Regions from separate parts of the Homo sapiens genome. Here region 1 is linked to region 2. The links are contacts of gene promoters, found by promoter capture Hi-C in blood cells and fetal thymus (Javierre and others, 2016). All regions are on one chromosome and are shown on one strand. Each heading gives the region's core, a stretch centred on a gene start or on the middle of the fragment in contact. The rest is flanking DNA. Distances are from core to core; before and after follow the strand shown.

Region 1 (3,401 bases), core at 366-2,865, 920 kb before region 2:
ATTCTTCTGTCTAAAGAGGTGTTCCCAATAATCTTTGGGGCATCAATACACTCTTCACCTGCTCCCTGAGGCACTGACAAGAAAGACTGGGCAGGGGTAAGGCTACAAATGGAGGAAGGGGGGCCCACATAGCTCACCTGGCCTCGGTGACGCTAGCAATGTCTGTCCCCAGAGCATGGGGTCGGGGCAAGGTGCTAAGGAAGTGCAGGTTAGAGGGGTTGAAAAGGCGCACGGTGCCATCAGCACAGCCACAGAAGATGTAGTCTTGGCTCACAGAGATGCAGTGGGCCACTGTGGTCTGTGGGCAGAGTGGCTCAGCTCAGCAAGGCCACCTGCCCACTCAGTCTTCTCTCCTCCCCACCCATCAACAGCCACCTGCCAAGAGGAGGGACCGGCCAAGGCAGGGGCAAGGGAAAAGCCGCCCAGCTGCCCTGTTCTGAGCCCCTCAGCCCTGTCCAGCCAGGGATTAGGAACCGAGGATTCTTCTAGGCACCAGAGGATCCAGTAGGAAAAGCCCAGTGAAGAGAAAGAAATAGCATGAGAAAGAGAGGAAGGTGCAGGCACCACTTACTGTGAAGCTGTCTATGTTCTGAGCGGAAGAGGAAAGCAGGGGAAAGAGACAGAAAGAGCAGAGAGGAGGCAGTTATACAGATCACCAAGGGCTGGAAATGGGCCAAGCTCTAGCTCCCCCAAGCTTCGTTCTCCTGGGATCTCCCGTATGCACAAGGGACCAGCCCCTAGTCTGAAGCCCTGGGCACTAGTTCTCCCCTGAGCTGAGACATGAGCAGACCCTACCCCTGGGGACGGAGGTACTTACCCTCAGCTCCACCCACTTGTCCAAAAGCCTTCGATCACTGAACTCGCACAGCAGCCCTGAGGACGTGATGCAGAAGGTACTGTCCGCCTTTTTTCCTCTGCCACAGGCCACATCAGTGAATAGGTTGTTCCGTAGCTCTCCCAGCAGCCCTGAGCGGCCCAGCAAGGGCACAGTGGCATTCACCTGTGGAGGCACACCACTGTTACACCCCCATCCACCCCAGAGCCTGCCCCTGGAAACTGGGCCCTAGGAGAGTACAGGGGACGCCTCCAGCACCTCCTTGCTCTTTGGGCCTACTCCTCAGCCCAGACAGCATCTGGCTCATCCAAAACTTCTGCATGACTGCTGGGAATGCAGAGAGAGGCCCAAGTGGGGCAGAGTCTCCTGGGTTGGGCTGGGCAGGCCCTGCCAGGGGCCTTGGTGGCTACTCCCAGCTTCAGCACCTCACCTTTGAGGTCTTGCTGTCATCGAGATACCAGAATTTGATGTGTCGGTTGCCTGCAGTGACAAAGTAGCTGCAATCCTCAGAGAAGGACACTGCTGTCACCCGACTGGACACCTTGTTGGAGGCCACCACAATGTTTTTCTGGAGGGGATGCCAAAGGAAGAATCAAGGCTCTGTCTCTTGGAGCTAAGAAGACAGTGACTCAGAGAATGGAGGAGAATTAGAATTTGTACTTGACAAAGTGTTTCTTTCCAGAATTTACTGGCCAGAAAAAGAGGGGTAGGGAAATAATCCCTTTCTAGAGGAGCTGAAAAGATTCGTTTCCTGCAGAAGTCTTTGAAGGCATAAAGCTAGCCCCTTCAACCAACATGCTTGGCCACACAGTTGCTCTTTTCTGCTTCAAATAACTTTCTAGAATGAGAATGGTTCAGTGGGGTGGAATGGAGCAGTGCAGGTCAGCAGTCTCTTGCCTCCCCAGCTGACACTTGACCCCTGTGAGGCTGCCAGGCCACCCCACCCAGCCACTCACCTTCCAGGCCCACACGTTGACGATCATGTCATGCTGGTAGCCCACAGAGACAATGTACTTGGCGCTAGGAGAGAAGGCCACACAAGCCACACCATACTTGTGCTCCTGCAGCTCGGCCACCTGGCTGTGCTCTGCCACGTCCCAAACCCGCACGGCAGGCATGTGCCCACTCTGCAGGGAGGCAAGAACTGGAAGTGAGTTCTTGACTTCTCCACAGGCATACAGCCCCACTTCGTCTTCCAGAGCGGGGCCCTCGCCTCCTCAGCTACTAGATACCATCACTTCCCCAGCCAAAAGTCAGGGCAGGGTATAGAGGAAATATGATAAAGATCTGAGGGCAACAGTGATTACCAGGAAGAAAGTGGCCCCGGATTTTAGTCAGCATCTCTGGGTGGCCGTCTGTACTTCAGGTTGTTCAAAGCTCCCTGAATGGTTCTGATGGGCAGCCGGCATTGAGAGCCACTACCACTCAGGTCTATTTCTGCCCCTAGTAAGACTACGCCGCCAGGACAGAAGCGTTCCTCCTGAGCCCAGCAGGGGGCCCCCGGGGGTAAGGAATAGTTAAGGCAGTGGTTTCCAAAGCACGCTTCCTTCACCAGCAGGATCAGCACTCTCTGGGAACTTGTTACAAATGCACATTTCAGACTCCCATCCCAGACCTACAGAATCAGAAACTCTGAGGACCAGGCTAGTGATGTGTGCTTTCACAAGCCCTCCAAGTGATTCTGATGTACACTAAAGCTTGAGAACCACTATTTTAAGGTATAGCGAAAACCAGGATTTGGTGTCTGTTTCAGAAGCCAAAGTGACAGCAGGCCTAGGACCGCAGCTCTCTGCGGAGGCCAGGACACCTGCCCTCTTTACAGTACTGCCAGCCCTCTTCCTCACTCACCTCTCCAGTGACCAAGTACTTGCCATCAGGGGAGAAGGCAAGGGCAGTGATGGTTTTCCTGCAAGAGATGGGGCAGGCTCAGAGGGGCACTGGCAGCCTGGCCTAAGCCTAGCCCCCTCCCAGCCTCTCAAAAGGTGAGACCAGCAGACACCAATGGCACATGTGGCACTTCCCCATCTGGCTTTAGGACCCAACCAGGTCCCAGCCCCCAGAGCCATAGAGACTCTAGACAGTGCCCTTCTCATAGCTCCCAGAAGGAAGAGGTATCCTGAGGACCCCAGCCCATTTACCTGGAACTGTTGAGGATGTGGTGCTGTTTGTGTTTCCGGGGATTGAACAACACAACCACACACCTGAGGAGATGAGCAGACAACAGGCTCAGCAGCAAACCACAGCTCCCCCAGGAGCCCTCCAGGCCACCCAGGACTTCCAGTCACCCGGCAGAGGGAGCTGGGTAGAAAGAGCTCAGAAGGGCTCCACTGTTTTTTTCCTTTTCTTTTTTTTTTTTTTTTTTTTTTGAGACAGGATCTTACTCTGTCATCCCAGCCAGAGTGCAGTGGTGCAAACATGGCTCAGTGCAGCCTCAACTTGCAGGTTCAAGCAATCCTCCCACCTTAGCCTCCCTAGTAGCTGGAACCACAGGCATGTGCCACCATGCAAGCTAATCTTTGTATTTTTTTTTTTTTTTTTTTGTAGACACGGGATCTTGCCACGTTGC
Region 2 (3,268 bases), core at 117-2,616:
TGGTTAACAAATAGTTTGATATCAAGTCGTTTGCTGGTCACCTTTACAATAGAGGTCTGGAGCTCTTTCCACACTCTGACAGCAGTGAGGGGTTGATTCTTTGAACCCTTAAGATGCTGTCACAGCATGATATACCTGCTCCCACTGGTAATGGGGCTGCGTGGAGGTGGGACGGGACTGGTGGTCTGGGTATTCTCCCTTATCAGGTCTTTGGCCCAGCAATCCCAGCTTAACTGAAGTAGTATAGCCCCATTCTCTGCCCCCCTCCCTGCCCATGCGGTAATGAGCCTCAGTGTAGAGTTGGCAAGTGCTGGGATATTTTGAGCATTGAATGAAGGTAAAGACTAGAGTGAAAGCAGCTCCAATTCGTTAACTCCACTCACTGGAACAGTTCCCCAGGGCTCCCTATGCCCTCATTCTCCTGGAGACTCACTACTTTCTACAAAAACGTCCCCAAACTCCAGGCTGCACCCAGCTATAGCCAAGGCCAAAAAGATTTCATCTCCATTTTCCCCGTTCAGCGACAAAATTCCCTCTGGGACCCTCCCTTCTTCCTCTGCAATACTCCGCCTTCACCACTTTCTTTGTCCATTCCTTCCCTCCCACCTCCAGAAGGGGCCTGGTGGGAAAAGCATCAGCAGAAGCCGGGAGCCCATTCTAAGTTCTCCCAACAGCCCAACTGCGCCCTGTAGGTGAGTAATTCCTTATCTGGGCCCCAATTCCCTCTCAAAAGGACCCTAGCGGTAGAGCCTAGATCACGCGGCAGCTCCCGTTGCTCTTTCAAACTTCGACTATCCACCAGCTGGGGGCCAAGAGAGCCTGAGGAGAATCAGGGGCCTAGACCCGGAAGGCACGGCCCAGGGGATGACCCCGAGCTCTTGGAGCTGCCCTCCTCGCTGCTCCCACGCAAATGCTAGGAGAGCCGAAAGGGGCAGCGGCACCCTCCTCTTCCTTACCCGAGTGGGGGATGCCCACGCTAGGGCAGCCGGGCTGCAAGACGGCCGAGCGGGACAGCGAGTTCTCGTACTCATCCAGGATGGACGCCATGGTGCCCGGCCTCTGGGCTCTTTGTCCGGGGCCTGGGGATTACAAAAGGGCTACCCCCCCGGGGTCCCCGTCGCCCCAGAATGGAAGCTGTAACTCCCCAGCCTCTGACAGATCCTGGGAACCTGCAGCCGTCGCCTCCTCTTTAAAATCCTGAGGATCCTCTTGCTCTTGCCTTATGCAGCGAGATAATCGGGCAGCCCTCGTCCTTGAATCTGGCGCAGTCTTGCACCTTACTCCCCGCCCCCGCTACAAAAAAATCACAGGCTCCCTTCAGCCGGTGCCAGGTGATCCCAACCTCGCCCCGGCAGCTCAGCTGACTCCCGCCCCCGTGACGCGGGCCTAAAACGTAACTTCCGGGTTCTCAGAGCCCCGCGTACGCTGGCGCACAACGTCGCCGGGCCAGCCAGCAGAAGGCGAGACGAGGGCTGAGGGCTGGGCGCGTGGCGAGTGCTGCTGAACACAAGCCCCGCCCCCAGGATCCTGCTGCAGTTCCGAGCTTTGACACCAGGAGGCAATCCCGGCTTTCTCAGCCGGCCTTCCCCACCCGCCCCGCGCCGCCCAGTTTTGGCTTTCGTGCCCAAGCTCCGCTCCCTCGGGTGGTCTGTCCAGCCTCCCTGACCAGCTCCCGCTCCCGCCTCTCTAAACAGCCTCGGGGAACCTCCCGTTCCTCAATCCAATCGCTGTCTCTATCCCACCGTCACAGGGCACACGCAGACAACTCCTGGCCACTCTTCTCCCTTACCCAAAGGCCCCCCAGCTTCCAGGAGACCGCAGAGCTGGTGGCCAGGCTAGTGGGAAGCCCTGTGCCAGGAACCGCCCTGACCTGCCCCACAGTGGCTCCTTGGCTCAGGGTTGCTGGGCCGCTTCCATTCACTCATTCACCAAAATGTGGTTGAGCACTTACTCTGTGCCAGGCCTTGGGCTGGGCGCTGGGGTCACAGAGATGAGGACAGCCCCTCCCCGCCCTGGAAAAGGTCGTAAGCCAGCAGGGGCGCTGGACCCGTAAATAGACCATTCATACTAGAAAAGCAAGTGATGGATTATCCATCAGGCACTTACTCCACGAATGAGCGTCCACTCTGTGCCAAGCACTGTTCCAGGCTCTGGGGACGTGGCAGAGAACAAGACGGAAAATGTCTCTTGCCTGGTGGGGCGTACCCAGCGACGTGGCCACGGCACTGAGAGCGTGAAGGAGCAGGGAACAAATACCTGCCAAGCCTAGCAAGAACGAGGGACAAGTGGGAGCAAGCGTGAAGGCGGGGGCCGCCCAGCCTGAGGTGGAGAGGGGAGTCCTCAGCCAGGGACCTGCGAGGGCTGGGGCGCGACTGTGGTTGGGTTTTCCTCTCTCACCTGCTTAGGCGACCCAGATGGAGTCTGTTCCCTTCTGGGGCCCTTGGATTCTACCTTGCTAAAGTGGAAGGCTCTGGACTAGGGTCGCCACCGTCCTGGCTCTGCTGGGCGGCCCCCGCCTAACAACTAAGAGCATCCCTTTGCTCTCAGAAGTTTCCAGGTTTGCACCATACCTTATGTGGTTGGGTTACTCTTGCTCAACTTCCTGGCCACGTGCGGAGAACTGTGACTCTCACCAGCCCCACTGAGGGCTATCTGGGCTCTCTGGCTTGGAGGGGCACTAGTCCTGGGGCAGGTGACAAGTATGCTGTCCAGGCTCATTTCCCTTCGCACCAGGGTCCTGCTTCTCTTGACCAAGCCTGCAGCCTCAATGCAGCCTTCCCACCTGAGGTTGCCAGGTCCCAGGAGGGAAGTGCAGGAGCAGGACAATAGGCAGGAGGCTTCCTCTAAGAAAAGTGATCCCAGACAGGGAGCTGCCCTGCTCCATACATAACACTTCACCCCCAGGTCACCTGCCATCTGCCCTCAGGTCTGGACTGTGCAGAGGGTTGTCCCTGCTGCACAGAGCCCATTAGCAGTTGGAGGTCAGCATAGGAGTGCTGCCTTAGGGACACAGAGTACTTCCAGCTACAGCCTCAGGGACCCCAGCACCCCATTGTTGGGCTCCATGGCTCTCCGGGATGTATGGGATAGGCCTGGGTGGACCCTGTTTGTGGCAGACTCAGTACAGTCTCCCTTATGCGTTGATTACCACAGTGCATTTCCACCTACTCATTCTTCAGTTCTTAGGCTGGACTTTGGATTCTTTGAGAGCCACAGAATCAAGTGTGGCAGTTGCAATGAGACAGGTAAGGGATGACTGCTAGGGCAT

The links. The method cuts DNA at HindIII sites, captures the fragments that hold promoters and counts their contacts. A CHiCAGO score of 5 or more calls a contact.
Region 1: a contact is called between a fragment that was not itself captured here and the fragment with the promoter of VPS18 in region 2, in 1 of 17 cell types (naive CD4 T cells). The highest score is 5.5, in naive CD4 T cells.

What each region holds. Positions count from the first base shown.
Region 1 is chr15:41,810,518-41,813,918 of GRCh38, reverse strand. MAPKBP1 (mitogen-activated protein kinase binding protein 1) reads right to left here. Exons shown (of 31, transcript NM_014994.3): 4 at 2,974-3,036; 5 at 2,684-2,741; 6 at 1,792-1,962; 7 at 1,266-1,403; 8 at 818-1,000; 9 at 138-298. Among named protein-coding and RNA genes, the nearest start is that of JMJD7, 16 kb to the left of the region's middle. The HindIII fragment of the contact is 1,838 bases long and covers 697-2,534 here.
Region 2 is chr15:40,892,548-40,895,815 of GRCh38, reverse strand. VPS18 (VPS18 core subunit of CORVET and HOPS complexes) reads right to left here and starts at 1,366. Exons shown (of 5, transcript NM_020857.3): 1 at 957-1,366. The coding sequence starts at 1,047. RefSeq lists an enhancer at 551-640 and a silencer at 1,481-1,650. The HindIII fragment of the contact is 16,460 bases long and covers 1-3,268 here.